Regions from separate parts of the Homo sapiens genome. Here regions 1, 2, 3 and 5 are each linked to region 4. Evidence: promoter capture Hi-C in 16 types of primary human blood cells and fetal thymus (Javierre and others, 2016). All regions are on one chromosome and are shown on one strand. The core of a region is centred on a gene start or on the middle of the fragment in contact, and the rest is flanking DNA. Distances in the headings are between cores, read along the strand shown.

Region 1 (5,374 bases), core at 2,099-4,598, 750 kb before region 4:
AATGAGCCCATCATATTGGCTTAACCAAAGCCAGTGGTCTTCAGGACACGGAAAAGGGAGTCCCTTAGGCTCCAGGTTTTTTTCCCTTCAGTTCACACTGGGAGAAGGGTCACAGAGCTCCAGTGAAATCTGGTCCTGTTAGATCATTTGTGGTTGGCTGCAGATGCACATGTGGGCATGTGATAGTTTTGATTTAGATAAAAAGCCCACAACTGAGTGGAGTGTTGAAACCTCAGGGTTATAGACTGGTGTATCTGTGAGAAAACCACAACAAGTATGGTATTTGAAGGACCCTAACATTTTCTTTTGCCAAGTTATTCATTCAGAGCCTAAAAGTTTTCAAAGTATTGTCCCCAACTGAAAGAAACCCTGTGATAACTTGAATTTATTTGTATAGAAGTAACTCTACAGTCGATCAGACTAGATGTCAAATGACCATCTCTACTTAGGGTCTGAATTCCAAGGCATCAGAAAGTTTGCCCTTACCTATAAGACCTTGCTCTTTTAGATTCCTGGGATGATATAAAGAATTCCTGATAATTGGAATAACTGGAATTCCTGATAATTGAGATTCATGATAGTTGGCTGATTAAAAGGTTATCCTCAGAAGAGTATTTGAATTTAAGTGGGAGACCCTTAAGCTTTCAAGATAAAAACTGGCCAGGCACGGTGGCTCACGTCTGTAATCCTAGCACTCTGGGAGGCTGAGGTGGGAGGATTGCCTGAGCTCAGGAGTTTGAGACCAGCCTGGGCAACACGGTGAAACCCCATTTCTACTAAAATACAAAACATTAGCCAGGTGTGGTGGCATGCCCCTGTAGCCCCAGCTACTCGGTAGGCTGAGGCAGGAGAATTGCTTGATCCCGGGAGGAAGAGGTTGCAGCAGTGAGCCGAGATTGAGCCACTGCACTCCAGCCTAGGCGACAGAGTGAGACTCCATCTTATAAAACAAAAGAAAGAAACAAACAAAAAACAAAATAATAACAACCAACCAGACAATCCTACTCAACTAGAATGACTGAATCAGGCATGTGCATGGGATCCATTGCACCACATGGACCCTCGCCTGTTGTGTCTACCTGTAAGGTCAACTCTGCCTGTTTCTTATCCTCTTCCCCTCCTCACAGGGAATGATTCTACTTGGCCAAAGCAGGGACTCACCAAAGCTGTAGGTAAGATGAGGTGGTAGACTTCTAAGCATTTTACATGTGTTTATGCAATCTTTCAAATAACACAAGTATCCACAAGGCAGCTGTGAAGTCACCTGACTGTTACACATGAGGAAAAGGGGTAGTTAAGTTTAGCATAGTGCCACACATATAGTAAATGCTCAACAAATATAGGTGTTACTGGTTTAGAATGATAATATTTTGGCATGACTTAAGCCAAAGTCCACCTCTAGATTATAGCAACAAAGGAAAGTTTTGTTTTGCATAAACACAGTTTCAACCGCTGGAAGGACTTTAGAAAAACAACTTGTAGGACATTGTGAAGCATCCTTTAGCTTTCAGCTCTCCTTGGGCAGGAAGCCCACAGACCAGTGAGTCTTTAGTTTTGCTCTCTAGGCTTGGCCCTTCTCTTCATTTCTGATGCTTCGTCCATACACTGAGAAGGACCAATTTCCATATTCTTCCATCTAAATTCCAGAATGTGTTAATTTCATAGTGGGTATATGTAGCCAGTAGATCAAGTCTCCTAAGAGCTTACCATTATTTAGAGTTATTTTATACAAGGAATGAAATTCTCTTTATTCCACAAGTCTGGCCAGATGACCCCAGTCCCTTCTAAGGTAGTATGCTTTTATTCTCCCCAAACACCTGTTTGATTGAGATGTCAAATAGGAAAGGTAAGTTTCCTAAAAAAAAAAAGCTTCCAAATGAGTTCCCTGAGGTTCTAGGCTTGGGCCTTTTCTAACTAAAATTATGGGCCCAGGGTTTGTGTATCTATCTGTCTGGGGTCCTGAGGAGGAACCCAGTGGGGACAAAAATCCCCATGGCAACGTACTTCTAAAAAACACAGGAGCCTTACAGCAAGACCTAGCTCTGGTTCACTGTGAATTTGCTAATAATTAACTCTAGATCTCTGAGCAGGAACAGTCACATTAGTAGAAGGCAGGAATTCTATCTATACACACAAACTGCTGAGAATTACAGGTGGAGGCCTACTAGGAAATAGAGCAGGTTTCACCAGCCTTGACTAGGTGTCTTTGTCTGAGACCAGCCCATTGATTGCTTGTGGGGAGGGAGTCCGTAGGAGGGAGAGAGTCGTGATTGTATTCTGTGGCGTCTCTTTCTGTTCAGACTATGGGGAGCAAGATAAAAGTGTTCCCAACCATATTAGTGTTCTCTGATTCGTCGAATGTCGGGGTGGAACGGGACCTGAGAGACCATGGACCTCAAAACACCCACTGAGCCTTGCTGGGCTCATCTATCTAGGAGACAGTCGCCATATATGGATCTACAGCCTTTAAGTGCACACTGGGCACGGGATGTACCACATAGACCCTCGCCTATTGCACCACATTGAGGTGCACTGTCAGAGTGAAATACACACTGAGTATCAAAGACTTTGTATGAAAAAGGGAATGGAAAATATCTCACTAATAACTATATTATCACACATTGAAAGGACAATATTTGGGATATATTGAAACAAATAAGATCTATTAAAATGAATTGCACTGGTTTCTTTAAAAAAATTTTTTTTTGCTAGAAAATATAAAGTTACATTTGTAGCTTACATGCTATTTCTATTGGGTGTGCTGTTGTAACAAGTACACATTCCCTCTCCTCGAGGTTGTCCCTCAGCATGACGCTGACTGATGTTCATCAAGACTTACTGTCACACTGGCTAGTGCTGCCAAGCCATCTAGACTACAACTTATTCTAGATTCACCCTGGAGAGATCTTAGAGGGCATATCTTCTTCACCCAGAGAAGGCATTTATGCCTTATTGAGGCCTCAGTTTACCCAGAGGAAACAGCTCTTCCCTATGACCCTGAGAGGTGCTGGTGCTACTCAAGGCACCTGTGTTCTGGTGCACCTGGCCCTTTAACTAAAAGATAATGGGGCAAAGGAGAGGGTGGGGAGCAAGTGTAAATACCTCATTGTGGAGCAGAGGCAGCTACCACCCCATCTGAGCTAGGGTGGCCCTGGCTAACTCATTTTGCTCCACCCTTGATTAAGCAGATTTTTACAATGTTCTTGCTTAAAAATCTATTTGATTCACTGAAAAGTAGTTATAAGTGGTTACACTAGGAAGATGAATACTACTCTTCTGCACCCCGCTGTGTGATAAACCTGCCTGCCCTCAAGAAGCAGATCCTGGCTCTTGCTGGGTGGGGTTGGTGCCAGCCTACACTAGAGCACCCGCGGTGGCATGTGGCTAGGATTATCAAAGGGAGATTGGAGGCAGCTGGTGTGTACCAGGAAGCGCACCAAACCAGCAAAGTTCTGGCCCCTCTATTCAGTAGCTGCAGGATCCTGGGCAAGCCGGTCTCCTGATCAGTAAAATGGGTATAAGAGTGCCTACTTCAGAAGGGTGCTGGTCAGGCATGGTGGCTTACACCTGTGATCCCAGCACTTTGGGAGGTTGAGGCACGTGGACCACTTGAGGTCAGGAGTTTGAGACCAGTCTGGCCAACATGGTGAAACCCCATCTTTACTAAAAATACAAAAATTAACCAGGCTTCATGGTGCATGCCTGTATTCCCAGCTACTAGGGAGGCTGAGGCTGAAGAATAGCTTGAACCCTGGAGGCAGAGGTTGTAGTGAGCCGAGATCACGCCACTGCACTCCAGCCTGGGTGACAGAGAGAAACTCCGTTTAAAAAAAAAAAAAAGAAGAAGAAGGTTGTTATGGGGAGTAAATGTGAGAATTCTAACACTATCAACAGATGAGAGCTCACTATTACTGATAAAATGTGTCCCAGGTGGGAGTCAAGACGCCAGAGTTCTAGGTTCTTTGCCCCTCATTTAGCTCTATGGCTGGGTGCAAGCCCCTGACCTCTTCAGCCTTAGGTTCCTTATCTACAAAATGGATTATGAAGATTCCTCTCAGTGTGAAGAGTTCATGATTTCCATGACCCCAAGCCCTTCAAATAATAGTGAAAATCAAGGAAACTGAGCCCAGAAAGGTCAAACCACTTGTCTGAAGCCGCATAGCTTTGGGGCAGCAGGATCAGAGTAGACATCCTGCTTCCCAGTCCAGGGTTTTCCTGCTGGAGCACAGGAGCCTCCCTGTTTACCCAGTGAAATGAGATGCAGGAATTCAAGAGGCAAGAGGGAGAGAGCCCCATTGCCTTGGACTTGGAGGTAAGGGAGTCCATGCTTCTGAGGTGAGTCGGTCAGCGGCAAAGTCAGCCCCATCAAAATCTCTCTGTGGACACAAATTCTTCTGGTATCTCCCTCAACTGTTAACTGCATATCCCCAATCATTTTCCCTTGGCAGCTCAATTTAACTTTGGCCTATTGTGTCAGCAACCTTTTTTGTCAGGCAGGTGCTGTCTCCTTAATCTCCTGCTACTGCAGTCACCTGGGGCAGCCACCCAGCTCCGTCAGGAACTTGCTAGGAAGAAACTAGCCGTGCCTGGAAAGTCGGGCTTTTCGAGTTCAGCTCTTGCTAATTTCAGCAGCTTGCCTTCTGATATTTTATTCCTCTTTACCTGGAATTCATTTTGGGCCATCTGATTTGTTTAATCATCACATAAAAGATCAACATACCTTATTTATTTTTTAAAGGACTGATTCTAATCGGTGAGCAAACACTTTTACACTCGTCAGCTGCTCCTTGGGCAGCCTGGGATCAGCCCACGTTGCACATTCTCTAAGAAGCTTTGTCTCCAAAGCTTAGCGTGAAGGCTCTGCTTCAGCCCACTGAGTGAGCGACAGACATGGAGAAGTTTGCTTTTGTGAGCTCATCAGGACAAGACCTTCATTGGTTCCCCTTTAAAAGAAATGGCAGTTGTTTTTCCCTGGTTGGGGCGACTTGCATGGTTCTGTGTACACAGCTTGGAGAACGGGAAAGAAAAATCAGAACCCACAGTATCTACTCCTTGCACCTTTTAGCTAGGAGTATTATTCAAAATATTTACCTGGTATGGCTTAAGCCCTGACCAACCAAAAAAGATAGAAGATGTAAATTACTGGCGAGGCCACACTAATACAAACCGGTGGAATCTCAATGCCGTCCACTGTCCTGGGAGCTTTTTATTTATACCCAGCATAATGTAACGTTTACTGAGAGCTTTCTGAATGTCAGACACTGTTTTAAATGCTTTCCAGGAGTTAACTCATTTACTTACTGTTGAAAACTTTATTAGGTAATGTTTGGGTTGAATTGTGCCCTCCCACCCCAAATTCATACGTTGAAATCCC
Region 2 (4,954 bases), core at 898-3,397, 810 kb before region 4:
AATCAGGAATCTAACCACAACAGAGGACAAAAATGGAAACCTTCTCATAATGTCATTTGTTTGGATGGTGTTATGGGTTGAATTGCATCCTCCCGAAAGAGACGCTGAAGTCCTCCAGTACCTTAGAATGTGACCTCATTTGGAAATAGGGTCCTTGCAAATGTAATTGGTTAAGATGAAGTAATAATGGAGTGGGGTGGGCCCTTAATCCAATAGGACGGATGTTTTTATAAGACAGAGAAGAGACACACGGGGAGGACACCTTGGAAAACAGCGGCAGAGATCGGAGTGATGCAGCTACAAGCCAAGGAATGCCAAGGAGTGCTGCCACCACAAGAGGCTAGGGTGAGGCAAGGGAGGACTCCACCCAGCATCTCAGAGGGAGCATGGCCCTGCTGAAACCTTGATTCCACACTTGTTGCCTCTAGAAGTGTCGGAAAATACATTTTTGTTGTTGTAAGCCATCTAGTTGTGGTGCTTTGTTATGTCAGCCCTAATAAACTAATACAGATGATTTATATGTGAGTCAGCTGGATTTGCCTACAAACACCTTTTCTGCAACTTCTTATATGAACCAATTTAAAATTTAATAGTATTTTTAATCAGTGAAAAAAGTTGGATGGTATGGGATTTTGTTGGCCTAATGTGGACACAGCACATGTTTTATTCTAGTGTAGCAGTGATGTGCTGAATCCCTATCAACTCCAAAGGGGATGGCACTAGGTTCAAGAGGCTGAAGAAGAGATCCAGAGCTAGAAAATGAGACACTGGGGTTTTACTGGGGGTTTACATACAGGGGAGAGGGTCTAGTGGTGGCGGGCTGGACAGGAGAACTGCTGGTCCAGTGGCAGTGGGCTGGTAAGAAGAACCACAATCGCTGGCAAAAGGCATGCAGTTTATAAAACATTTTCACTTAACACCCTCCCCCTAGCAACCTCAGCCTGGCAACCTTCATTTAACCCCAAACAAAGGATGCTGATCCCCTGTATGGCCCACATTCCCTGGGACGGGCTGGGGTTCAGATGTTCCTCATAGATAAGGAATGAATCTCTGGGATGGCCACTTCCAATTCCTTAGCTTGGAACTCTGAACATATATTTGGGTGCATCTGCCACACAGGGTCATTCTCAGGGTAGGCTCAAGTGAAGTTATCACAGTCAGGAGCACCTACCATACAAGCATCCCTGACCCCTCCAGTGAGAAAGTTGCTCATGTCCTGTGAAAAGCCAGTGATAGTGCTCTGAGTTCACTGCTATGATGTCTTGTTATTCTTTCTTTAAAGGAGAGCTCTGACCACTAGAAAGAGTTTTAAGAATGAATAAGGAGATACAGGACAGACACAGAAACCCTGGAGGACAAATGGTGCCAAAAGGATACTTATACCTTTGGCATTTCCCCAGCAGGAGGGGAAGGAGGAGTAGAGGGAGGTAGTCATAGTACCTCACCCTTCAATCCTCACTCTGGCTTTGATGTTGTCATTAGCATGTATCCCCAGAAAAGTCACTTATCTCTCTCAGGGTTTCTATTTTATTCAGGGGTAATTGATTTCCACTTACCAACCTATCCAAAACACATGGAGGAGAAAAAGGGAAATAAATTAAACCTTCATGTTCTAGGTCTTTAGGAAAAGCATTTTGTGGTCTCTAAAGTCTCTAGTCTCTTGGTTCTGTGTACAGAACACTCAATACCATCAACATCTGCATACTCTAGGCTCCTGACCCCTCTTTCTAGAACACAGGCACTATATTCAGAAACCTTTCCAGCCCAAAGGAAATCTTGTGAAATCTGGATATATATTATTTTATTTAAAAAAATCCCAGACATCATGTTATTTTACTCCTACCTATTTCAGTATATATCTCTAGCAATTATGACCATATTCTTATGTAACCCGTGTTCTTTTCACATCCAACAGAATTACTAATTTCTTGGTATCAAATATGGATATGTTTATATTTTTTGCAATTCAAAATAGGAAACACATTAGTCCTATTCAAAATAGGAAACACATTGGTGAATTACTCTAAATTGTTGAAGTTGAAGGGACCTCAGGGAAACAATTTCTGTTAGTACCTAAATTTCTCAAGGCAGAAGGCTACATGTCCTATTGTTAAATATCATAGGACATTCGTATGCAATGAGGGACTTTGGGGATTATCCAGCTCAACTTCTCATTTGATAGATGAGGATGCTGACACCCTGTGATGGCTAATTTTGTGTCAACTTGACTGGGTTAAGGGATGCCCAGATAGCTGATAAAATATTATTTCTGATGTGTCTCTGAGGGTGCTTCTGGGAGAAACACCCAGTACACTTGGTATTGAATCCATAGACTGAGTAAAGAATGTCCACCCTCACCAATGTGGGTGGGCTTTATCTAATCTACTGTGGGCCTGAATAGAACAAAAACATGGAAGGGGTGAAAATTTTCCTTCCTTGAGCTGGGACATCCCTCTATTCCTGCCCTTGGACTTCAGACCCCTGGTTCTTAGGGCTTTAGACTCTCAGACTTATACCAGGCCTCTCTCTTGTTCTCAGGCTTTGGCCGTGGAGTGGGAGCTACACTATCAGATCTCCTGGTTCTCAGGCCTTCAGAATAAGACTGAATTACACCACTGGCTTTCCTGGGGCTCCAGCTTGCAGACGGCACATAATAGGACTTCTTGCCTCCATAATCGTGTGAGCCAATTTCCATAATAAATCTCCTCTCATGTATACCTATATATATCCCATTGGTTCTGCTTCTCTGGGGAATGTTGACTAACACAGGCCCTGAAAAGCCATGTAACACCTGGTGAGTCAGAGACCAAAGCAGAATTGTAACCCACCCATTTCTGACTCCCATTCCACAGCAAACTGATTCTTTAGGAATGGAGATGCCATAGACTTTCTTAGCAGCCAAATTTGTTATTTAATTCCAAAGTTATTGTCTCTGGCTCACTATACTCCCAATTAACTGCACTTTAAGCTCACTTCCTCCATGGAAATAGAGACCAACTAGCTTGAATGTTCTTCCTTCTAACCTGTCATAGTTTTGAAGACCATCAATAAGTTGTGTTTCAGGCTTTTCCCATCAGATTAAGCAGTTTTCAATCTGATCCCTTCCTCACAGCATGTTTTCTCTCCTTAAAGACTGTAAACAAACAAATGAAGAACCTGTGGGCTACCAAAAATACATCTGTTGGGAGCAAAAAAATGTCACAGTCTCATTTTTGCCAAGTGGTCATGAGAATGTGCTGGCAAAACAGACCACACTCAGAAACAGGCCCTACTGACCTACTATAGCCTAGTCTTTTCAACCATGTTTATTAAAAAATGAACAACAAATGGAAAACCAAACATTGTATGCTCTCACTCATAAGTGGGAGCTAAACGATGAGGATGCAAAGGCATAAGAATGATACAATGGACTCTGGGGACTTGGGGAAAGGTTGGGAAGGGGGTGAGGGATAAAAGACTACAAATTGGGTTTAATGTATACTGCTCGGGTGATGGGTGCACCAAAATCTCACAAATCACCACTAAAGAACTTAGGTAACCAAACACCATCTGTTCCCCAAAAACCTATGAAAATAAAAAAAATAAACAACAAACAACAAAACCCTTCACATATAAAGAGGAAAAGAAATCAGGAAGCTGAGATTGGGACTTGGGTGAGCTCTTGAAAGATTTACTGAGCAGCTGAGATGTTGCTTGAGTGGCTTGATGGCTCCTCTTTCCTTGGATTATCACAGCAAGATCTGGCGCTGTGAAGATCATATTGCTTTCTGGTCACTCTGGTGAATAAGGGCGGGGAGTGGGGGAGGGGGTTGGTGGGCAGTAAATAAGTCCGGATATCTCCAGGGTCCAAAGTTGTGTTTGGATAAATTTAAACACCAAGTTACAAAGTTGAAGATTAAACTAACAACCACTCATCAGTGGATAAAAACATTGCTTGACTACACGATGCCAAAATGCTGGTCTGTTGTTTTGACTGAAGTAAGCAACTACCCGGCTGGTTGCCTTCTGGCATGAAATTAGAGCACAACCTCAATGAACTGGGATTTAATTTAATTAACTGAAAAATAAAAGGTGTCTTTTGTTACATTCTACTGGTGGAAAAGTAAAGTGGCAAGAAAGCAAGCAAGGATCAGGGCTTTATTAAAATCACCTCCTAGACAGTGAGTCTCCAGTGATGCACATTGGAATCATCTGAGAAACTTTAAAAACTACGGCTGTTTGGCTCCCATCCCTAGATGTTCTGATTTAATGGCGTGGGGTGCCGCCTGAGGGTTAAAATTCTAATGTGGAGCAAAGTTTGAGAACCACTGCTCTAGATATTTCCTGGTGCTGGTGTAACGCAGCCCAGTCATCTAAGCCATCTATAACATTGGACTGAGGAACATGTTTTTTTTCCCCTTTTAAATCTACTGACTGAAAGTAGAACAATCCATTCAAGGCTACATAAATAAAAATGTAATTTAATGTCATTTAGAGATTTGTGTTTTTTTTTTTTCTTAGAGAGTTCTATCCTGTTGCTTTTGAAATGAAGACTTAGGAAACAAATACTTCTTTATCATTCAGTCCGAAAAAGAAAATAATTCTGTCCTAGGGAAATCAGCTAAGGAAAAGGCATGAGGAAGGGAAAAAGAGACAGAGAAGGAATGCAGAGAGAACCAGGGCACAAGACACAAACCAGATCTCTCAGACCTGCCTCCTGTCCTGCTTCTCGACTTCCCCAGCACACGCATGTCCCACTGTCTTGTCCTCGCGGCCTCTCCACTCAGCGTGTACGCGTTGGCTTCTGGTGAGAGAGGAGGGGAGAAAAGGCAGCCAGAGGGAGACACAGCTGCCTCACCTTTGCTGAGCTGTTGGGTTTTATTGATCTGTTTTGTGTCTGCACTTCGGCCTGTTCTGTCCTGATTATGTCCACTGCTTTGAGTCCTGACCCTTATTTCTGGTCCCTGAGTTATTT
Region 3 (5,034 bases), core at 1,527-4,026, 690 kb before region 4:
GCCAAATTTTCTGGCTAGAACTTTTAATACTACGTTGAATAAAAGTTGTAAGAGTGGGCATCCTCATCCTGTTTTCTGATGTTAGAGAAAAATATTTCAGTTTTTCACAAATTAAGAATGATGCTAGCTTTGGGCTTTTCATATATGGCTTTTATTGTGTTGAGATGTTTTTCTTCTATTCCTAGTTTGTTGAGACTTTTTGTTATGAAAGGGTGAAGGATTTTGTCAAATGCCTTTTCTGCATCTGTTGAGATGATCATGTGATTTTCATCCTTCAGTCTGTTAATGTGGTGTATCACATCCATTGCTTTGTGAATGTTGTACCATCCTTGCATCCCAGGGATAAATTTCACTTGGTCATGGTGTATGGTCCTTTTAATATGCTGCTGAATTTGTTTCACTAGTGTTTTGTTGAGGATTTTTTCATCTATATTCATCAGGGATATTAGCCTGTAGTTTTCTTATCATTTTATCTGGCTTTGGTATAAGGGTAATGCTGGCCCCATAAAATCAGTTTAGAAGTGTTCTCTCCTCTTAGATATTTTGGAAGAGTTTGAGAAGGAAAACAATAAATAAATGAAGCTTTCACCACTGAATTTTCACCATTTGAACAGCCTCAGGTGACAAGACCCTGTGGCTGGAGGCGATTGCTTCCTTCTGGCTTCAAGGTGAAGACTTCACTGAGCTTTGTTTTCACTGGTGCCTGAGGTGTGGGAATTAGGGAGAATCCCAGAGTCTTTTCTAGAGTAAGACTGTTTTGATGTCTTTGCCACTGTTTATTTTTCTAACTGAACTTACAAATAGGGAAGGTTATTTTTAGTGACAGAAGCAAAAGCTCAATAGTTCTTCTGGGATTTAGATGTGGGAACTCTGTTCCTCCTACTTCTCTCTCCCTAAGCTCCCTCTCTTTTCTCCCAAGGACATTTTATCTGCACTCAAGATAATGTGATATGGAGGAAAAAAGCACTGGACTGGGACCCAGAAGGACTGAGTCTTGTCTGGACTGACACCAACGAGCCATGGGTTTGCTAGAGCAGAGGTGGCAGAGTGGAGTGGTAGTGAGTAGCAGGAGCGCTGCAGACAGACTAGCCACTGAGTGTCTGCTTCCACTACTTACTGGTTATGTGTCTTAGACAAATTACTGACCTTTGTGTTTTATATTGTCCTTAAGTGTAAAATGGGAATCATAAATGTACCTACTTCGTAGGACTGCTTCAAGTGTAAGATGAGGTAATTGACATTAAAAGCACTTAGAACTGTATGAATCATGCTCTTACCTTTCTGGTTCATACTGTTGCTGACAAGCCAATCATCTAAGTGATGTCCAAGTGCTGGAATCTCATCACATGCAGAACATTCTGTAGACCTGAGGATCATCTGATGCAGAAAAAAGAAGGCAAAGTAGGCTGGTGTTCTTCAGTCGTATAAAGGATTGTTGCACAAAAGAGATGTTTCTTCTGAGTTGCTTGGAAAGTTCGTTGAAGTTTAATTCAAAATACTGGAAATAATCCGTAGTGTTTCTATACATTAGTAATGAATTATCTGAAAAATAAATCAAGGAAACAATCTTGTTTACTATAGCCTAGCAAAAAATACTTGAGAATAAATGTAACCAAAGAGGTGAAAGATCTGTACACTGAAAACTGTAAAACATTGAAGAAGACAAAACAATGAAGAAATTCTATAATCAATGGAACTTGGGAATGAAAATCACCATTTTGCAAAACAGTGAGTCTTCATAACTGAAATAATTCAAGCCAAAACAGGCTCTTTGTTTGGATTAGCGTAGAAGGTATTCTCTTCTTTAAAATGTGACTCTAGAAAAGCAGAGAGATTCCTCTTCTCCCTGTGACAGCCTAAAAGTTATTTCTCAGTCTCCTTACCACTCTTACTGCTGTCCTGATCCCAGCAAGGGGAATAGTTCACTTCTTTTCCAAACAGACATGATGGTGTCAGTTGTGATCAGAGCTGGTAGAGCTATCTTTCAGATGAGGAAAGTGATGCCAAAAGTCTTGTATTATGTTAGAAACAGCAAGTTAAAAGGGTGAGATCAATAAATGGTTGGAAACCTAAAAGCTAGGATATCCTTGGAGCAATAAGAGTTAGTTAATAATGGAAAACCAGGAAATTAACACAGAAAGCTTAGTTTAATAAAACCACAGGTAAGCGTTGGTAGGCTATGGAAATATTCACACACAGTGCATGCATACTGCTATCTCTGTCAGTTTCTCTGCCTGCCATTACCACATTTCTTGACTTTCAGTGGCAAGATGTACTTGTGAATCAGGTTTCCAGCTGTGGCAATCCTCAATCACTAATGTGTAGTCATAATATCAAATATCTCTCATCTTCTATCCCACTAATCTATCTTTTCCTGCTTATACCACTGGTTTTCATAGTCACTTTGGGCTGCTATTACAGAATACTATAGAATGAGTGGCTTAACCAACAAACATTGATTTCTCATAATTCTGGAGACTGGGACTGTGAGATCAGGGTGCCAGCATGGTTATGTTGTAGGTGAGGGCTCTCTGTGTGGTCGGACAGCTTCCTTCTTGGATCCTCATGTGGAAGAGATATCTGTGGTATCCTTCATCTCCTTATAAAGACACTGATACAATGATGGGGGCTCTGCCCTCATGACCTCATGTAAACCTAATTACTACACAAAGAACCAACCTCCAAATACCATCACCTTTGGGATTAGGACTTCAACATAAGAATTTTGGGAGGATGCAAACATTCAGTCCATAGCACTGGTCTAGTTACTCTTGCCTCTGAACCTTGCACTGGCTCTTCTTGTTGCCTGGAACATTCCTCTCCCTCATATCCACACGTCTCTTTTCTTACCTCCTTCAGGTCCTTTTTCAAATATCACTTGTTTCCTCTCAGTGATGACTTCCCTGACCTCCCCATTTAAAATGACCTCCCATGGCCCTCACTGTCCTCTTTCTCTATTACTGTATGCCATAGCACTCATCACCTTCTTTCACAGTTTTAGTTTCCCCAGAAGTAGATCTTGTGCCAGGATTTCAAGTGTAAGTGGTTTATTCAGGAGATGCCTTATAGTTATTCCACCCAAATGGAGAAGGAGCTGGGATATTTACATGCCAGCTTCCATTAGTCATAGATTGTGGGCTCTTTGGGAGTGGAGTATTGATTTCATGGCACTTCTCCTCAAGGTGGGCAAATAAGCCTTCTGTAACTTTGGAAAAAGACCTAAGACCTGATGTAGATGCTGATCCCTGGAATATCAGGGAGTGTACCAGAATGCTGAGGTCCAAGGATGTGGGTGGAGCACTGACAATATCTGCTATATCATCTGATATACTATATAGCTTACTATTTATATCTATATATGTGTGTGTATATATATGACATATTTATATCATATATACATACTTCCAGAATGTAAGCTTTATGAGACAGATATTTTTGCCCATTTAGCTCACTCCTGAACTTAGAATGGTGACCTGGTACATGTTGGTGTTTAATAAATGTTTGCTGAATGAATGAATGAATGAATGAAAGATGTAAATGAGAGATTTTAAGCTGTGAGTTGTGATCCATCCAACAGGTCATAAAATTAATTTAATGGCTCCTGACCAGCATTAAACAGATAGAGAAACATAAAAAAATCAGAGTATACCGCAGGTGGTAAGGGTAATACTATTGTAAAAAATATTTCACTGCAGTTACTTAATATGCATTTTTCTTTTTTTTGAGTCAGAGTCTCATTCTATTGCCCAGGCTGGATTGCAGTGGCGCGATTTCGGCTCACTGAAAGCTCCACCCTCCGGGTTCACGCCATTCTCCTGCGTCAGCCTCCTGAGTAGCTGGGACTACAGGCGCCTGCCACCATGCCCAGCTAATTTTTTGTATTTTTAGTAGAGACGGAGTTTCACCATGTTGGCCAGGATGGTCTCAATCTCCTGACCTCATGATCTGCCCGCCTTGGCCTCCCAAAGTGCTGGGATTACAGGTGTGAGCCACCGTGCCTGGCCAATATGCATATTATAATTATTAAATTAAATAAAAATATACATGTTATATCTATTTTGAGTCCTAAAGTAAAATGTGTTTTTCACTCTAGGTTGTGATACTTGACCACCATTGATCAATTTGCTCCTTTTAGAGACAAGGAGATCAAGGCCCGGAGAAGTGAAGGCTGTTCCCAGGTCACAAAACGGCCCAGGCAAAACAGGCCTCATGACATCATAGCTCTTCTGGCTGTCTAGCAAATGACAGACATTGGAAATTTATTTTATGGAATAGAGGCCTCCAGTTAGGTCTCCTGAGCCAAAGGAAAGCAGATCCTTTGTATACATCCAAAAAGCCAAGTTGCAAACCCGTGAGTATCTGCTGTTCTATGGGTGGCTGAGAGATTGGCCTGGCTACCAATATGGCTTCAGTCATAGCATCTGCTTGCCAGTGTGCCCGTGTTCTGTGCATCAGAGTTGAGCTGGCTTCGCTATCTGCATCTGAGCACAAAACACAGTCTTCCCAGGGCTTGCCTAGCTTGCACTGCCCTCAATACAGTCATTAAAAAAAAATTGACATGATGGGGTCATGTCCCATTAAAGAGATTTTCTAAAGCATTATCTTTATTATTGTTTAATTCCACTTTTAAAATTCAGATTAAGAGCAAGAACCTGCTCAGAGCCAGCCACGCTTCTTGCTTGTCATTTGCTCCCTTCTCTTACACTTCCTACACAGAAAAACAAAACAGGTGGAAGGCATTTTCCAGCCTCAGGGCCATGCTTCTGAGAGAACAATGCCTCCTATATTGCCATCTACAGGGTGTTGTGCAGGTTTGCTCTGTAAACCGGCAGTCCTTTCTGAAGCCAAAGGAGGAGTTGCTGGTAATAATAAAGTCCATGAAGTCACAGCAGTGTTCTGCTCATTCATGTCACAAGGAAATGTTTGGGGGTTTTGTGGAACACATTTCCAGCCAGGACCAGAGGCACAGGGGAGCTCCATTTAATGCCATCTCAAGGTGGGCTGGGGCTAGGGTTAGGGTCTTCTTTAGGCAAA
Region 4 (5,646 bases), core at 827-3,326:
CTGATTGCCAACTTCAACAGTCATTAGCCCTTAGTTCACTTCTCCAACTAGTTGACTATTGGTCATTCTTCCTTTTTAACACCCTTTCTCTCAATGGCTATAAATCTAACTCCCTGTCTCTCCTCCTCCCTCTTGGATCTGTCCTATTTTGTTTCTTCCTTGTCTTCACCTGCTTCTTAAGTGCTGTTTCTCAGGCTTCAGTTATCTTTCTCTTCTCACTATTCCACTATCTTATGGCAATCTCAGTCATATCCCCTGATACAATGATGACTAACAAATCTTTATTCCAATGTAGGCACTCTCTGGAGCCAGATTTCTCACAAAACATGTGCACTTGGATGACCTACAGACACTTTCAGTTTAATGTTCCAGAGCCAAATTCATTACCTATCTTCCTTACTCTTTGCTTCAGGAAACAGCAATACCATTTACCTGGGTCATTAACTGACCATTATCCTAGACTCTTCCTAACCCTTTACATCCAAATAGCAGCTAAGTCCTATAGAGTTTCACTACCTTGACACATCCCGCATTTCCATTCCCTCATCTCCATTGCCATGGATACTGACTCAGCCTAGGACATGGTCACTTCTCATTTCCACCATTGCAAATGTCTCCTAGTTGGTTTCCTGCCCCTAGCTTTGCCCTCTGTACTTTGTCTTTCAAAAGACTGAGCAATCTTTAGAAAATGAAAACATGAACTTCATGATATAGTTTAAGACCCTTTGATGGTCCCCCATTGCATACAGGTAAAATGAAAGTTCTTAGCATTGAATTCATGCATTGGCCTTTCCTATGTCTCCAGCCATTTCTAGTAATTCTCCATCCGTTCAAAATCTATCCTGCATCTCTACTCACTCACATTCCCCAAACACACCATAGCATTCTGTATCTCTGTGCCTTTGTACATGTAGTCACACTTGCAGGTACACCTTCTTTTTCCTGTTGGCCCAGAGAAGTCCCACCCATCCTTCCATGATCATGTGGTGAAGTCCAAATAGCATTCACATTGCAAGACAATGTAATTCGTTTTCGAATTACTTGCCCTGCTAGACAGACTATAAGGTCCTTACGAGGTAGAGCTGTATCCTTTGCATTTACTATCACCATATCATCAGGGCTTAGCAGGAGGCTATTTTATTGCTATTAGAATTTATCATTGTCATTGCTATTGGGTAATTTTTATCAGAATATAAATACAAATGTATGCCTGAAATTCAAATCTCAATATTTAAAACTTTCAATAACAAAATAGATTTTTGTGGTTGTAGGATTTGAGGAAAAAATAAGTCAAAAAAAAAAAACAGGTAAGAATTTCATCTACTTAATATGGTTTAAATACTCCCCAGACTGAAGGCAATAGAGATGGCTGCCTGGGTCATTGGTGTTGTCCTTTAATGAGAACGTAAAGGACCCCCTCAAGTCTCTGATGAATCAAATCAACTATTTGATATAATTTTGAACAAGCCATGTATGTACACTTTAATAAGCATCCTGATTTTTATTCTGATTCTCAGTTGTCAGTGTATAGCAGAAATAGCATAAGTTTAAGTATCAGACAAAGCAAGGTCTGAATGAAAGTTGAAATGTTTTATTGCTTTGTGACTTGGAAATGCTGAACCTCCCTGAAGCTCAGTTTTATCAGTGGTCATCAGGATCGTTAGAGCAATTCACCCAAACCCTTCACACTCAAATACCTAGTACCTAATGACTGCTCAGTAATGTTTACTTCCTTCCCCTTTACTGAATGAAATTTATTTTTGTGCATTTTTATCTAAGCATTTTTTTTGCAAAGATTACAAAAATCTTTCCCAGTACCAAGCTCTTTCCTCTTGCACTGACAGCCTAGTGATGGCTTCTCTAGTCCAAGAACTCTCAAAAGACTTTTAGATTTTCTTTTTAGAGAGTAACATCTACTGTCTTCTTTTCTCAGCTAAGACATACCAAGAAAAAAAAAAACATTAAATCATAGAATAGATAAAAACATTGATTTACCTTAAATGCTAACCTTTTGCCACCAGTTGCTTCGAACTGAAACTATGGACGCTGTCTCCTGCATCTAGGAAAACTGGTCCCTCCCAAGCCACCTTAGCCTCCTCCCTCTTACCTGTCTTCCTCAGGGGCCCTGGTCCACTCTCTTAGTATTAATTGGAGGACCTGGGATCACTGCTGCAGATTCACAGCCTGATTGGCTCAGCTCACTGTCAATCTCTACTCTGGTTCTGCCTTTTCTCAAGTTTACACTCCTGTTGCCTAGGAAATCTCAGTGACTGTGAAAGCTCAAGCCATTTGCACTGGGAGAGAAGCCAGCCAGAAGTTTTGCTGGCAATGGTTTGGTTTCTAGAACAGCATCAAAACTTGTCTCCCATGTTTTGTAAGGTAGTATTCAGCACATTGTCTTCTTTCTTTTAGGCAGCACCTTCCTGTCCTTCTGTAGTCCCCAGAAAGCTTACTGCTAGGGTGCCTCATTGCCAGGTGATACTTAAAACCACAACTCTTGGGAGCAGGCAGGGGTAATTATAGGTGATTCAAGGTTCTCCCTCCTTCTCTGCATTTGCAGAGGATGTCATTTCTGCTGTTTTCATCCTTGGTTTCTTCTCTTCTTTTCTCTTTTTGTTTCTTTTTACTTATGTTTTTCACATGTTCCCTAGCAGTTACTTTGCCAGATAAGAAGAAATCTAGTGGCTTATTTGGAGGAAAATATCTACACTATGCTCTCTTTCATTGTGTATCTATGACATCCACCCTATCCTTGTCATTCCCACTCCTGCACGTCCTGCTTTCAGGAGCAGGCAGGTATAATTAGTGGTGATTCAGACCTTACACCTCTCTCTTTCTCTCTCTCTCTCTGACACACACACACACACACACACACACACACACACACACACACACACACATCTCTGTATATAACATAATCCTGGCTGTGTGCAACATCCTTGCAGTATAAGAACTCACAAAACGGAATAGATGCCAGGCACCCAGCTCTGCAGACTACTAGGCAAGTTCTTTCATGGATTTGACAAGGGCTTGGGTCCTTTGCTATATCTGCAGGGAGTATACATAGTAGCTATTTCATCCTTTTATCTGAATTGTCTGAAGAATTGTCCCAGAATTAAGCAATTAGAACTGTGGTTCTTCCAGGGCAACCTCAGATGTCTAATGTTTTCTTTTCAGTGGTTTAACCCACAAGATATCACGCATTTGAAACTTTTAAGAAGAAACTTAATTTCATCTGTGAATGCAGAAGCAAATATGAGGGCATGGGCATTTAAATATGAAGTATTTCTTGAAAGCCACCTACTGGAGAGTAAGTTTGGTGCAATAATTTAAGAAAAGATAAAAAAGAAACAGGAAAATTGGGACAACGGACAGCATGATGGAGCCACCGTGCAAGCCCTCAATAGTCTGCCTCCAGGTTGTGTCAAATAAAGTAAAAAGAACAAAATCTCTGGAGTACTTAAGCAATGCTTTTGCTTGTTTCCACTGCTAGCAACTGGTGTAATTCCAAGGGTTTTACCAGTTCAAAAAACTGGATCTGGGTTTGTGGTATTGGGTTTCTGACAATCAATATAAAATATTGATTATATTTTAAGGCATAAGTACTCTTTCCAGTGGTAAAGAAGACAATGATAGTCTATGGTGTAATACGGTAAAAAGATTTGTAAAATATTACTACTGGATTCCTAATCAAATATTCATAAATGGCAAATCTCTAGGTAATCATGATAGCTTAAAATATTTTAGTCAAACTAATAAATGTAATGAGGATGACTGCTTGTAACTGTGGTAGACAAAGTAAAGAAAAATGATGAACTCAGGGCTTGAAATTCCAAGTTCAAGCTCCACATAAATGATCTGAAACCTTCTATGTCTTCCTGGAGGAACGTACTTATCTCCCATTGTCATCAGCCTGAGGTTTCAGAAAATCAAATCTGGAGTCTCATCCTGAGAGTGGCAGAATTACAGTGCAAATTGAATTCCCAACCAGGCAAAGTATCTTCTGCTAAACTGAGGGAATTGATTAGGAAGGAATGAGATTCTGAAAATCGGAATGAAACCTGTAGGGTAGATCCTGATGAAGCTGAGGACACTTAACCTCTAAATTCTCCTGCATCTTCTTTGCCAGTAGGAGCAACCCTGCTATTCATGTCTGAGAAGGTTCATCCTGATTTTTCAAAGGAAAGTGTACTAGCACCTCTGAGGTATTTTAACTGGAAGACACTGCTGATTATCCTCAGAACCTACTTCCACCAAACCTCTTGGCTTGTAGAACTATATCATCTATATCTATATCTATATCTATATCTATCTATATCTATATCTATCTATATCTATATCTATAAATAAGACTCTAGTCCCAACAGGCTTGAAAGAGAGATTAAAATTGCGAACCAATGGGAGACATACTACATTCCAAAAGTAATGCGTATTTTTTCAATTTATACAGACAGAAATCTGGTGAATACATGTGAGAATGTAAGTTAATAGTGTGAAATAATGGTAGAAGGAACATAAAGTTGACTCAAGGTGAATTTATTGATACAGGCCCACAAAGCACAAATTCTCAATATAGAGTTGCAGCTCGATGGGTTTGGTTGAGTTAAGGATGAAACAAAGGGTGGCCTACGCTAAATGAAGCTGAAATACCAGAATTACCTTGGGACACTGAAGAGGAAGGTATCTAAAGGCTTAGGGAGACTGAAATGTTGGACTGGATTTATCACGCAAGACCTGATTACTAAGGGAAATTGAGTTGCTACTACACATTGATGTAAAGAGTAAGCCTTAAAAGGAACAAAATCATGTGATTTGCAGGGACACGGATGGAGCTGGAAGCCATCCTCAGCAAACTAATGCAGGAACAGAAAACCAAATACTACATGTTCTCACTTATAAATAGGAGCTGAATAATAAGAACACATGAACACTCGGAGGGGAACAACACACACTGGGGCCTGTCACAGGGTGTGGGGAGAGGAGGGAGAGGATCAGGAAGAATAGCTAATGGATGCTGGGCTCAATACCTAGGTGATGGGAGGATCTGTGCAGCAAACCACCATGGCACACATTTACCTGTGTAACAAACCTGCACATATACCCCAGAACATAAAATAAAAGTTGGAAAAAGAGTAGCGAATACTATGTTTTCATCTTCTTTGTAGCACTTGTCACAGCTGCAATCATTTCGTTGGTTTACTGTTATAGGTCATTAAAAAGAAGAGTAAGCCTGGAATAAAGGAACTCTGTTAACACATCACTAATTATGCCCATGCCCTTTTATTAAAGTCAACAAAAAATCTACAATAACCCAATTCAGTAAGGAAAACTAATAACCCCAACTCTTCAAGAATGAATATTTGGGTCCCCTTCCCAATCAGGCAAAAAGTCAATTGCGGTACTTGCTGAGGGCAAAGGTATATGAAATACAAATGCTAGCTATCACCATATGATCAGTTGCAAAAGGATTGTAAATGTTTTGAGTATTTACCTTGTATTTTGTTATGAATTTGTGTGTGTAGAATACTATCGTATTCTTCTCACTTTATCTCCTTAAAATCTAATATATTACTTCACAGTATTTATGTTACAGAATATCAAGAATAAGAGTGAACATCACCCAAGGACCTCCACTCTGGGGAAGAG
Region 5 (4,955 bases), core at 1,868-4,367, 790 kb before region 4:
TTTATACATGCACAAATATATTCTAGTGCTCAAGAAGCATAGGCAATGATATGCAGCAAAAGAGAAAAACAAACAAAAAAACCAATGATTTGTCAAATTCATATGGTATTTTTCATGCAATCAAATGGAGAACAAGATTGTCACAGGGTAGACGTGTCGGTGGATTCACTATGGTGAATCCATAGAAGAAATTAGAAGAATTAGAAGAAAATTGCTCTTGAAATCTCAGGAGGACAATATATAAAATATATTTATATGTATAATACAGATAGAAAAACAACAGGGAATTAATCATAGGTTTAAGTTTTATACTCATTTGTAAGGCAATGAACTTCAGAGGTGTTTTGGCTAAACTCCCTGAATATGACTACCTTAAGTTGGATAATTTTGCAATCTACCCTTCTAAATATTTCAAACTGTCTTTTAAAAAAATTGCAGTTATTTTTGCCTTAATTATCTAGAAAACTGCTTCAATCTCCACTTCACTTTGTATAATTAATTTTTAGATGTGGGTTAATTATTCCATACAAACCAACAATATTCCAACCATTCAATTTGTGTTGAACTTGGGAGTATAGGGTTTTTGAGAATTGGTGATTTTTGTGCCTGTGTGATGCCAATAAAGGGGGTAGAAGATTCAGTTTCTAGCCTCTCCTAAGGAAAAAAAGGCTTAATTTTATCTGGGGTAGATAGCTACTGTTTTCTGAAAGCTACTATGTGAGCTGAGAAGGGGCAAGGATGGAAGAGAGTGAGCTTTGATACTGAACAGATTTGGGTTGGAATCCAAGCTCTCCTAATTGGTCATGTTAACTTGGACAAACTTTCATTTTAGAAGGTTTAGATTTTTCATCTGTAAGAGAAGAATAACAGCGTTTACCTGATACGATTGTTGCAAGGATTCAATAACTGTAGATGAGCACCTGGTATGAAATACATGCACAATAAATCCTAATTCCTTCCTTCTCTTAGAAACGAAAGGATCTTTGAAGCCATTTATAATAGTTCAAATCTTAATTTTAGGAGACTTTTTTAACTCAATATTTTACAAAAATTTGATATTGCAAACAAGGTAATTCCTAGTTTTAAATGTATCACTAACATTACTTGTACTTAAGTATAAAAAAGAAACAAATTACAGGTACCGTGTAAGTTCTAAGGGGTCTTGGAAGTATATATAGATACAGAATTTTAAATATCAAATATATATATACACAAAAATACACATTTACAGAATTTCTTATATTTTTGAGGACAGATGATCCCTCTTAAGTTTTAGAAGAATGCAAGAAGATGGCCTTGAGAAATACAGCTTTAGGCTGTAAAATAGTGCCTTGGACTCTAAAGCACCAAATAAATAAAGTTCATAATCTTTATCTGAAATTCTTGGAAATCAAAATGTCGAGTTGCTTAGTAACTATTTTAGTATAATTAGTAAGCAGCTCTGTGTACATCTGACCAACTTTAAAAGACCCAAGATTTATTACTGTGGGAGTTAAAGTTATCAGAATGTCTATTATCAGTTTTGTTTGTGGTTTTGAGAGCATCTTTATTTCTTCTGACTCAGCCAAATGTGGTACTCCAGATCTGAGGGTTAACTGGCTGACCTAGTTTGGAAGACCTAAGGAAGCTGTATAGTTTTAGCAAATTAAAACCTTTGATAATAATAATATTGTTATTAATAAAATTGTGCTCCATTTGATAATAACCTTTGATAATAATAATATCCAGTTTTCATGCAGCTCACACATATGATACTGCAATAGAGTAGCAGACAACTAAGCTTCTTATGGAATTTCTGATAAGTGTTGTTGCCATTTTAAGGTGCACTTCAAAAGGTAAGGGTCTCTGCTAGAGAGTCTTAGTGACTCTAATTTATAGTTTTATCATCTACTTGTTTATTTAAACACATCTTAAAGATACTACAATATTTGTAGTGTGTGCCTCCAATAAATGCCATTGTATTTCCTACTATTTGCCTTCAAGTCAGAACTTGACCCAAGATATCAATAATTTAGACCTTTTCAGTGGGATATTTCAAAGCATGATTTGGTACATAAATTAATCGAGAGTAAGAGTGATTTTCTACATAGCCAAAACCACCCAGGAAGATAACTACCTAGTCTTTTTTTTTTTTCTGAGACAGAGTTTCACTCTTGTTGCCCAGGCTGGAGTGCAATGGCGCAATCTCAGCTCACTGCAACCTCTGCCTCCTGGGCTCAAGCGATTCTCCTGCCTCAGCCTCCCAAGTACAGGCGTGAGCCAGTGCGCCTGAGTAGCTGGGATTACAGGCATGCGCCACGACGCCCAGCTAATTTTGTATTTTTAGTAGAGACAGGGTTTCTCCATGTTGGTCAGGCTGGTCTCGAACTCCCAACCTCAGGTGATACGCCCACCTTGGCCTCTCAAAGTGCTAGGATTACAGGCGTGAGCCACCACGCCCGGCCACTACCTAGTCTAAAATAGTATTCTTGCTTCAGTCTATCATAGAGCCCACTTCTTTCTCTTTATTCTTTCTTACCACAGAGTGAGGATTGTTCTATGGTTTTCCATCAGAAACACATTTTTTTCTAATTGAAGACTAAAGCACAAACAGGCCCCAAACAGCTCCTGATGGTTTTTGTTGCGGTCATTGTTGAAATGCAACGATGGGCTCTGCTTTTGGAAAATAAGAGCCTTCTGCCTAGACTTACGCATTCTTTGCAGCCTTGATATCTAAATTTCCTTTAAAACAACAACAAACAGAATTGTGCTGTCAGACTAATTATGCATGATAACTCTAAGATGGATTAAAATGATTTAATTTATAAGACAGTTAATTGCCATGCAGTATTGAATTAAACCATCTACATTTTCTGGAAATACAGCTGCGTGCTTAATAGTGGGTCATAAAGTTAAGGCCTACAAGGGGAAAGATATATGATAAATATTGGAAAGATATTGAAAGACATATGATAAATATTTGACTGACAGTAGTGCATGAAAACCATAAAATGGGACCATAGGAGGTAAGAATAGGAAAAAAAAATCTTATTTCACATGCCTTAGAGGAGACAGGACAAAGTCGGAGCTGAAAGAGACATTTTCTCCCCACAATAATCAATGACAAAGCATCTGAAATTTTAGTTTTCTAGAGTGAATTATATGGTGTTTTGGCGGGGAGCAGCTGCATTCCCTCCAGGAACAAGCTACTGATAGTTGCTAATAGTAGGCATATAAAACATCTTTGTTGGATGGATGAAGGAATGAATAAAATGATTTGATAAAGGGCAAAAATCAGAATTGAGGGGAATTATAGGGTTTCACCACGAGGCAATATCTCTGAGGCTATGGTAAACAATATTGCTATTTACCAATATTTCTAGCTCTCCTTCCTTTCTGGGTACACAGGAGGGCCATGCTTGCTCTACTGAATTTGGGCATGGCTATGTGAGCCATCAAATGTAAGCAGGAGTGATATAATTCCCTTCCAGCTGGTGGTTTCTAAGAGTAGTGTGTGATCCTCCATACTACTCTTGCCTCGTAGCAATGGTTGTGGAATCATGAGTTGATATGGAAAAGCTGTAAGATGGAAGCAGCAGCTTGGATTGCTAAGCCAACAAAAGAACAGCTGCTCTGGAGAATTGCCTAGATTCACAGCAGACTTTGAGCAAGAAATAAACCCTTGTTGTAAGTCAATGCATGGAGGAGGGTATATTTCATAGATGAGCAAGATGACCAAGAATAGCTTGCATACAACTTCTGTGTGAATTTGACACTCTCCCATCCACAGGTGGAGTCTGTCTCCTCTTCCCCTTTGATCTGGGTGGCAAAAGTGATGCTGCATGACCACCAAGACTAGATCAGAAAAGGCCAAGTAGCTTCTCTTAGAGCATCCATTGTCTTGGAATTCTTTTCTCTGCATGCTCCCTCTCAGAATCCAGCCACCATAGAGCCAAGGCTCCTGAGAGGGTTCATGTATAGGTGCTTTTGTCAAGAGCCCCAACTAATCTGAGTCATCCCAGCCAGGCACCAAACATATGAATAAGGAAGCCTCCAGCTGATTTCAGTTTCCAAGCCATTTGAGTGTTCACAGCTGAGAACCCAGACATTACACAACAGACATAAGACCACTGTGTTGTGTCTTATTTCCTAACTCACAGAACTTGTGAGCACAATCAAATGATAGCTGTTTTAAACAAATTTTGGGGTGGTTTGTTATAAAGCAACTAGTTGACCGGAACAAACAGGTTGGGCTTGTTTGTTACCACACCGTAATTTATCCCATCATAATAGAAAGGTGTTTTTCAGAAATTCACAAAGGGTACATAACAAAGTAAGATGAAAAATACTATTTTCAGTTTTTTGGTGTTAATATCTTAGTGGTATCAACCTTCTAGGGAAGTTATACAGGTATAATCCGCGTGATCCATTCTCCTTAACTATAAACCACATTTCCAATGTCTCATTCACGTATGTAAGCTTTTGTAAACTGAATTCACTGGGGCATAGCAATTTTTACTATTTTATCCAGGCAGATTTATGCTACAAATAACTGTCCCTCAAGGAAATAAATGGTATATTAAAAGATATTTATACATGGTAAGACGCATGAATAAAACTGGGAGGCTTATATTGTGGGATGATTTATGTTTCAGAAATAGGTGGTGCCTAAGCTATTACTACATTATAAGCAGGTTTCAGATATTGCCATGTAGGTTGAGAGACTTAGTAAATATTGCCCCTCCCACCTTCAAATCATCACAAAAAATTTTAGCATAGGAGATTGCCAATACTGTACACAACAGTAATAGTGATTAATTAGCTGACTTTCAAGGTTCTACACCTCTAAAGACAAATGGACAACATGAACCCACACTAGTACAAGTATTGTCTAAGTAAGCTCTAGTTCACTGCTTCTTAATTAAACTTTGTAGGCCAGTTTCATTCTTCACAATATATTGGGAGTTATGTACCCA

What was found. The method cuts DNA at HindIII sites, captures the fragments that hold promoters and counts their contacts. A CHiCAGO score of 5 or more calls a contact.
Region 1: a contact is called between a fragment that was not itself captured here and the fragment with the promoter of CAPSL in region 4, in 2 of 17 cell types (erythroblasts and endothelial precursors). The highest score is 6.5, in erythroblasts.
Region 2: a fragment that was not itself captured here is called in contact with the fragment with the promoter of CAPSL in region 4 in 1 of 17 cell types (total CD4 T cells); the score reaches 5.0 in total CD4 T cells.
Region 3: a contact is called between a fragment that was not itself captured here and the fragment with the promoter of CAPSL in region 4, in 2 of 17 cell types (M2 macrophages and M1 macrophages). The highest score is 6.2, in M2 macrophages.
Region 5: a fragment that was not itself captured here is called in contact with the fragment with the promoter of CAPSL in region 4 in 7 of 17 cell types (total B cells, total CD4 T cells, naive CD4 T cells and 4 more); the score reaches 6.3 in total B cells.

What each region holds. Positions count from the first base shown.
Region 1 is chr5:35,183,574-35,188,947 of GRCh38, forward strand. All of the region lies in intron 1 of PRLR (prolactin receptor), which reads right to left. Among named protein-coding and RNA genes, the nearest start is that of PRLR, 44 kb to the right of the region's middle. The HindIII fragment of the contact is 2,962 bases long and covers 1,868-4,829 here.
Region 2 is chr5:35,130,608-35,135,561 of GRCh38, forward strand. All of the region lies in intron 1 of PRLR (prolactin receptor), which reads right to left. Among named protein-coding and RNA genes, the nearest start is that of AGXT2, 85 kb to the left of the region's middle. The HindIII fragment of the contact is 6,322 bases long and covers 1-4,954 here.
Region 3 is chr5:35,241,810-35,246,843 of GRCh38, forward strand. No RefSeq gene overlaps it. Among named protein-coding and RNA genes, the nearest start is that of PRLR, 14 kb to the left of the region's middle. The HindIII fragment of the contact is 1,275 bases long and covers 2,140-3,414 here.
Region 4 is chr5:35,936,546-35,942,191 of GRCh38, forward strand. CAPSL (calcyphosine like) reads right to left here and starts at 2,077. Exons shown (of 5, transcript NM_001042625.2): 1 at 1,996-2,077. CAPSL-DT (CAPSL divergent transcript) reads left to right here and starts at 2,256. Exons shown (of 2, transcript NR_104630.1): 1 at 2,256-2,379; 2 at 3,178-3,448. The HindIII fragment of the contact is 5,426 bases long and covers 1-2,446 here.
Region 5 is chr5:35,147,740-35,152,694 of GRCh38, forward strand. All of the region lies in intron 1 of PRLR (prolactin receptor), which reads right to left. Among named protein-coding and RNA genes, the nearest start is that of PRLR, 80 kb to the right of the region's middle. The HindIII fragment of the contact is 2,678 bases long and covers 1,779-4,456 here.